Regions from separate parts of the Homo sapiens genome. Here region 2 is linked to region 1. The links are contacts of gene promoters, found by promoter capture Hi-C in blood cells and fetal thymus (Javierre and others, 2016). All regions are on one chromosome and are shown on one strand. Each heading gives the region's core, a stretch centred on a gene start or on the middle of the fragment in contact. The rest is flanking DNA. Distances are from core to core; before and after follow the strand shown. Region 1 holds the start of ARNT2 (aryl hydrocarbon receptor nuclear translocator 2). Region 2 has its middle 22 kb from the start of MESD.

What was found. The method cuts DNA at HindIII sites, captures the fragments that hold promoters and counts their contacts. A CHiCAGO score of 5 or more calls a contact.
Region 2: a contact is called between a fragment that was not itself captured here and the fragment with the promoter of ARNT2 in region 1, in 1 of 17 cell types (M0 macrophages). The highest score is 5.1, in M0 macrophages.

What each region holds. Positions count from the first base shown.
Region 1 is chr15:80,402,763-80,406,688 of GRCh38, reverse strand. ARNT2 (aryl hydrocarbon receptor nuclear translocator 2) reads right to left here and starts at 2,307. Exons shown (of 19, transcript NM_014862.4): 1 at 2,143-2,307. The coding sequence starts at 2,173. ARNT2-DT (ARNT2 divergent transcript) reads left to right here and starts at 2,493. Exons shown (of 6, transcript NR_184070.1): 1 at 2,493-2,698; 2 at 3,104-3,187. RefSeq lists an enhancer at 2,376-2,876. The HindIII fragment of the contact is 4,789 bases long and covers 1-3,926 here.
Region 2 is chr15:80,965,367-80,969,292 of GRCh38, reverse strand. It overlaps a transcript of MESD not described here. Among named protein-coding and RNA genes, the nearest start is that of MESD, 22 kb to the left of the region's middle. RefSeq lists an enhancer at 2,176-2,691. The HindIII fragment of the contact is 704 bases long and covers 1,911-2,614 here.

The DNA.
Region 1 (3,926 bases), core at 1,058-3,557:
TGTACCATTCAAGTCTCCCGCAGTCCAAGGCACAGGCACAGGCTTTCCTGTGCTTCACACCACGGGGCCAGGGGCAGTTACTCCATCTTTAGATCTTTAGTCCATGTAGCTCATGGAGCAATGTAATGGACAAAAAAGTTTTAAACAATGATGTCCTGGCATAGAAATTATGTAAATCACCAGGGATTTTATTCCTGTTCCCAGTGTATATTGGACTAAAATGTTTTCATTTAACATCTTTTGCTTTTTCTAATTTCATAACATTTACATCTATCAATTTTCCATTGATTTTGAAGTAGTTGAATGGGTTGAAATTGCAGCTTCAGTCACAGGCAAACTGGCACAGATTTGTTTTCAGACCAGCCACGTTCCTCCTCAGTGTTCTGGACAGAGGCCTCCTTGTCTGTTCTTCCAAGAGTCCCTATTTCTGCTGATGGAACTGCCTTCCTTGGAATTACACAGGCTCTTCACCTTGGTGTCTCCATGGACACCTCCCCTTTGTCTCTCCTTGGCCTCCTCCTTTACTCTTACTCCAAATCTAATCAGTGCCAAATCTGGAACTCTTCTACCCGCCCAGTGGTGCATTCCTTCCTCTCTGGTCCAGCCATGGCCACCAATTCTGGCCTCCCCAGCACCTGCCTCATTTCATGCTGGCCTCCCTGTCTCAAGTCTTGTTCCCTCCTTAGAATGTTTCCTAGACATAGCTGACAAATCAGTCTTCCAGAAAAAGTGATCATGCGATTTCCTTGTTCAATACCATTGAGGTCTCTCTCTCTCTCTCTCTGTCTCTCTCTCTCTTTTCTATTTTATTTTATTTTTCTGGTTCTTAGGAAGTGTGCAGAGGACTCTCCCTTAATGTGGAGAGAGAAAGTCCATACTCCTCAGTCTGTCCTTTAAAGCCTGGTCACATCCAAACAACTCAGTGTTAAATCCCACTGCTGCCTCTTATATCCCCAGTGCACCAACTACTCACTGACCTCTGCACTTGCTTAGAGCAAGTCCACTGTTACTTACGCCTGCAATGCCCCTCTGCTACTGGCTCTGTATATTCAAACATTCCCGTTTTCAAGGTTCAGCCGAAATGTCCAATCTCCAGAAGCCTTCCCTGGCCGCCTTAGATGAAAGGGATCTTTCATTCCTAATTCTATGATGAGAGACACTTTTCTTTGCTAGGCATTGCTGTTCCTCCCCCGACCCTCCCTATCTCCAACACATGACCTCCCTCTGCTGGGAATTTCCTGGGGGCCGCCCTCTGTGACTCTCCCTGCATCTTCCACAGGGACCCAGCAACCTGCCGTGCCCACAGCAGCCTCTGCACAACACCCAAAAGTTTGTACTAGCTTAGATGTTCACGTTTCTCTTCTCCCACACCCTGCTCATCAGGTAGGGAACTTTCCCAGTGAAAACGGAACTTCCCTACTACAATACCAAAACAAGTCAATGTTGCCACTTGATCAAGAACTCTTCCATTTTTGAAATATTTCCTAATGAGCTCAGTTGTCACAGACTGCACCCTGGGGACAGGTCAGACCAGAAAGCAGAGGATGTCACCTGGGCAGGACCAGGGCTGCTCCACGCTGGTGACCACAGGCTGGGTGTTTTGTGCCCCCGGAGGGTTAGGACACACAGCAGCCAGTCGCAAAGGGCGCAAAGGACCAGCGCTTAGTGGGCGGGGCGGGCAGGGGAGAGTCCCGGGAGTTGTACCCTGTTGAATCCCAGCTCCAAACTTTTCCCTCCGTCAGCGCGGAGCCCTCCACCAGCCAGGACTGGCTGACGCCGTGATGCCACAAAAGCCGGGACCGGAAGAGAAAAATGCGTGGGATGGGGAAGGCAAAGGCGGTTATTTTCAGAACTTCGGGGGCTCCCGGGCCTGCCCTTCGGGTTCCCGAGGATGCGAGGCCAGCGTCCGGCCGCCCGCGGGTCCGGACCGGCGCCTGCCCGGGACCGGATGGGCAGCGATTGGGATGCAGATGCCGCTCTGGTGCTGATGCTGCGGCTGCCGCGTAGTGACAGCCGCTCCACCACCCACCGCGCCGAGCTGCGGCTCCGCGCCCCCGGGGGCGCCCGGCGCGCCTGGTCCGCTCCGGCCCCGGGCAAGGCCTGCGGGCTGCGGCGGGCGGCGGGGCCCAGGCCGCTACTCACCCGGAGGGTTGACCGCCGCCGGGGTTGCCATCTTGCTCGGAGAGGATAGGCGCCCGCTTGGCAGGGGCGCGGGAGGGGCGGCGCGGAGCCCGGCGCTCAGCCCCGGGGACCCGGTCAGGCCCAGGCGCCGCCGCCGCCACACAAAGGACGGCGCGGGCGGGCGGCGCTCCCTCCGCTCTCCCCGCCGCCGCGGCCGCTCGCCGTCCCCGCCTTTCTCTCCTCCTCCTCCCCCTCCTCGGCCTCCTCCTCCCGGTTCAGCCTTTGTCGCGCGGCGGGGGGCGCCCGGCCCGCGGCTCCCCGGTCAGAGCGGTAGCACCGCGAGACTTGGGGCTGCGGACGGCGGGACCCCCAAGTTGGGCGCCGGCGACTGGCGGGGGCAGAGGGCCGGGCGCTCCCTCGGGCTCGCGCAGGTGCTCGGGCCTGGCCGGGCTGGGACCGCAGGCGCCTCTCCCGCGCTCGCCTAGCCCGGGCTGCCCCCGCACGCCCACGCCCCAGGTGTCCGGGCGCGCTTTACCCAGGGGCGCCGTGCCCAGGCCAGGAGGCCAGGGCGGAGCGGGTGAGGGAGAAGCCCATTTAGATTCAGAGGGAAGCCGGTCCTGGGAGACGGCCGCGAGGAACAAAGGCGCCCCAGTGCTGCCCACTTAGCATGCCAGAGCCGCGCTGCTCGGCTCCCAGGCCGGGGACACGGCCCGGTGTTAAGCGGAGGGTGCCCGACCGCGGGAATTCCTAAGGCCACGCGCACCTCCAAGGCCACCGCCGCACACAGCTTCGGAGTGCACAGTGCACACGCCCAGGCACAGGCAGCCGGCCCGAGAAATTGTGAATGTCTTGGCTTTGAGTAAGGCGCTCATCTCTACCCTCCTTCCATAATGACTGCCGTTGATTATTACTTGAGGGCGCTGCAAGGGCCTTATTTACACCACCAAGTTGAGAATTTAAAAAGATTTTTTTTTTTAAATAGGTTTATCTGCGTATCCTGGCGAAGTTTGGATGCAGAGAACTTGGAGCTGTTGTTTTCTACCAGACACTAGGATCCCTGAGAGAGGTAATGGCCCCTAGGAAGGACACGTCACCATCGGGGTCCCCTGTAAAGGTTAAATGGAAGAATAAAGACATCCCAGGTGAACGCTGAGAAGGGCAAGTTGGTCCCTAAACGCAGATAATGTTTGCAGAGACATCAAACTGTCTTAAATCCTTCCAAGGAAGCATTTTCTGGAGGGCAGAAAATTTGGGATGTATGTTCAAATAAGCATTTTCTTCGGGGAGTATTTGTCACTACTAATCTAATAGTCTATCAGTTCTACAAATGTTGAATGTCTGCTGTGTGCCAGGCACAAAGCCAGGTGTTGGGCCTACCATGGAAAGGAAGAAACAGGAGCTCTGTTCTTCTGGTTTGGGGGGTAGAGTGGGGAAGAGTGAAACAAAGTATCTGCACTCAAGAAGCACACAGCTCCCTTGGGGGCTTAGGGCAGAAGCCCTGAAATTGGCATCTCCAGCCTGTAGTCACTAATGAATGAATGAGGGCAGAGAGGAGGTGGAGTGATCAGGGAAAATGAAAATTAGGCTTTGAAGACATGAGTAGGACAGGTGGAAAAAGAAGACATTTCAAGTAAAAAATAAAGCAGGTGTGCACCCAGCCACAAGATAGGCCAGGCCCAGACAGAGAAACCAGGGTATCAGCTATGGCCCGCTCTTGTGCCCCGTATCAAAGTTGACTGTTCCTGATTCCAACATCAAGCCAAATGAGAATTCAGCCTCTCTTCTACATACCCCGAAAAGCAACA
Region 2 (3,926 bases), core at 1,013-3,512, 560 kb before region 1:
GCCTACTGTGTGCAAGCTCTGGACATCCTTACCTAACTGTGACATGCTACCCACTGTGTGCAGGTCTTTACATACTTTATTTCATTTACTCTCATTTTATTTTCAGTTAGGGTCTCACTCTGTTGCTCACGCTGGAGTGCACTGGCACGATGGCAGCTCACTGCAGCCTCGACCTCCAGGCTCAAGTGGTCCTCCCACCTCAATCTCCTGGGTAGCTGGGACCACAGGTGTGCACCATCACACCCAGCTAATTTTTTAATATTTTTTGTAGAGACAGGGTCTCCCTATGTTGCCCTGGCTGGTCTTGAACTCCTGGGTTCAAGCAATCCTCCCACCTTGACCTCCCAAAGTGTTGGGATTACAGGTGTGAACCACTGTGCCCGACCTCATTTACCCTTCACAACCCCACAAGGTTGGTATTAGTTAACATTTACTATGTGGCCCTTTGAAGCACAGTTCTGGTGTTGGACTTCCCAGCTCTGCATTTTATTAGCTGTATCATGTTGGACAAGTTATTTAAGGACCTCACTCATCTAAGCCTGTAGGTGCTAATAAAAGTTCCCATTTCAGAGAAGTATTATAAGGATTAAATGAGCAAGTCCCTGTGAAGCACTTAACACAGCTTTCTTTTTTATTTTATTTTTAAAGTAAAGAGGTGGGGTCTCACTATTTTACCTTGGCTGGTCTTAAACTCCTGAGCTCAAGCGATCCTCCCACCTTGGCCTTCCAAAGGAGTACAGGTGTGAGCCACTGTGCCTGGCCAACAGAGCTTTCAGTACATGTTAACTATTATCATTTGTGTGTGTGTTTTGTGCTTCAGGTGACTAGACAGAAGCTTGTAGGGGTTAAGCCCCTTGCTGAGAGTCACAGCTAGGAGAAGGCAGGATAACATCCTGCCTGGGCTGTTTTCTTCTGGAGGCACTGCAGTTTTCACTGTGGCTTGACACTCTAAGGGAGGGGCTGGGATGGAATTCTACATGGGCCACAGAGATTGCTCCAGAAGGAGAATGGCCACCTTGCCCAGTGTAGGGTATGCCAGAGCAGAGCGGGTCAGCTTCCTTCCAGGCAGAAACATCTGCCGTTCCCACCACCTTGGTGCTCTGCTCTCAGATACCTGCATGGCTGAGGACCTGCTCTCAGGTGAGATGGTTTGCCCTGAAAGGGGCAGAGCTGCCAGAGTCCAAGCGGTCTGCAGGAGACTGCAGTTTGACCATGCTGCTTGCTGGTACAAGGAAATTTTTGGTAGGCAGATTTCAGGAGGTCCCACGCAAGTGTCACAAGCCAGAAACTTGAGATGTTGGACCCCTTTCCACTTGATCCAGCATCTGGGAAAACCTGAGCCTGCAGTTGGGGCCACTTGGCCAACTCTCCATAGATCTTGTTGAATCAGCTTAAACCTGGGCTTGTCAAATTCTGGATCTCAGCAGCCCAACTTGCAATTTTAAATCTTTGACCACTGTTCCCTGGCAGACCTAGGGCAATTTTTGTTTTCTCCAGAGAAGTCTGCCGAAGTTTCTGAGGTGAAGTTTCCAAGCTGATGAATTGGAAGCCCAGACTTGGCAGCTCTCAGCCAAGGAGGGCTGCAGTTGGTGGAATGTGAAGAATGCCCAGGGACATCTGGTCTGCCTTGCATCTGTTTTTCAGGCCAGCCCGCATTCTTCCTGCAGGAGAGAGCTTCAGCCATAGGCCTAGAAACACTGGGGCCCCTTTGATCCATGCCTCCTACCTCAGCTCCAAGTTGGACGACATTGAGTGCCATACTTGCTTTCCCTGGGCCTTACCTCTTCTATAAACAGGGTGGCAAGTCCTGCCAGGCCTGGGATTTACATGCCAGGGTCTGGAAGAAACAAGACAATAGGGATCCTTATTCTAATGCAAAGGAGGTCCCTGACTCCCTTAGGATAGAAGCTTCCTTACAAATTCTCTGAGGTCCTTGCTCTAAATTAAAACTCCCTGAGGGCTCCTACTTCTTTTCTTTTCTTTTTTCTTTTTCTTTTTTTGAGATGGAGTTTCACTCTTGTTGCCCAGGCTGGAGTGCAATGGTGTGATCTCGGTTCACCACAACCTCCACCTCCCGGGTTCAAGTGATTCTCCTGCCTCAGCCTCCCAAGTAGCTGGGATTACAAGCATGCACCACCATGCCCAGCTAATTTTGTATTTTTAGTAGAGGCGGGGGTTTCTTCATGTTGGTCAGGCTGGTCTCGAACTCCTGACCTCAGGTGATCTGCTCACCTAAGCCTCCCAAGTGCTAGGATTACAGGAGTGAGCCACTGCGCCCGGCCAAGGGCTTCTACTTCTAGTTTTAAAATCAATGCCTTGAGCGCATCACCTCGATGGGCCTCAGTTGGAATGGGCCAGCATTTCCCAGAGGAATTTAACCAGCGGAACTGCCCAATAAGGAGGAGTTGGCCACTTCAAGCCAGTTATTTGGGCTTTTGAGATGCAGAATCAGGAGGAAGAGAAGAGGTGCAAAGGTTGTGGAGCAGAGAGGCAGCAGGGTATGGAAGAAGAGGGCCTGAATCAAATACACACACCCACAGTGTACAGTGGCAACTATGCAAGGTGCTTGTAGCTTGCAACAGAGGGATTTTCCAAGGGAGGCCAGAGAAAAGCTTCCTGGAGCAGGTGGCCACTAAGCTGAGATTTGAGCAGGCATGAGTGGACACAGAGGCAGCCTGGAAGCTGGGGGCAGTGGCACAGCAGGAGGGGTGGAAGCTTGGTTTGTGTGTGTGTGCACATGTGTGTGTGAACACACCTCTAATATGGGGAGCACTGGGCCCGTTGAGCTCTCAGGTCTCTCTGTCTGTAATACTCTGTGACTTTCAGAAACCAAAGGGCCTCTGCCACTGGCTCTGCAAATGAGTAGTTTGTTATTACAAACCCTTTGTAAATATTATTTTGATGAGGTATAATAGTTCATCAAATGAGGCCATAATTTATTTGGTCATTTCTGTGTAGATGAACATTTAGGTTATTTGAACCTGTCAAGTCATTATAAATAATGCTACAATGAGCATCTTCATACCCATGCTCTATTTCATTAGGCTAAATCCCCAGATATGTATGTAATTAGTAGGTCCAAAAAAAAAAATGATGATGATTCTTTTAAAGTTCTTGATTGGTTATGCTAAGTATTTTCTAAAATGGTTATTTCTAACTTTCAAAAACTTTATCATGGAAATATCTTAAATGTACACACAAAAAATAGAGTGGGTCACCATTCCTTGTCACCCAGTTCTAATAATTATCAACATTTTAATAATCATTTTTAATCTTTATTTTGGGGAGGAGGCTATACCTCAATTTAGCCAATTTGTTTTTTCTTTTCTTTTTTTTTATTATTATACTTTAAGTTCTAGGGTACATGTGCACAACGTGCAGGTTTGTTACATAGGTATACACGTTCCATGTTGGTTTGCTGCACCCATCAACTCATCATTTACATTAGGTATTTCTCCTATTGCTATCCTTCCCCCAGTCCCCTACCCCACAATAGGCCCTGGTGTGTGATGCTCCCCTCCCTGTGTCCATGTGTTCTCATTATTCAGCTCCCATTTATGAGTGAGAACATGCAGTGTTTGGCTTTCTGTCCTTGTGATATTTTGCTGAGAATGATGGTTTCCAGCTTCATCCATGTCCCTGCAAATAACATGAACTCATCCTTTTTTATGGCTGCATAGTATTCCATGGTGTGTATGTGCCACATTTTCTTTATCCAGTCTATTATTGATGGACATTTGGGTTGGTTCCAAGTCTTTTCTATTGTGAATGGTGCCACAATAAACATATGTGTGCATGTGTCTTTATAGCAACATGATTTATAATCCTTTGGGCATATACCCAGTAATGGGATTGCTGGGTCAAATGGTATTTCTAGTTCTAGATCCTTGAGGAATTGCCACACTGTCTTCTACAATAGTTGAACT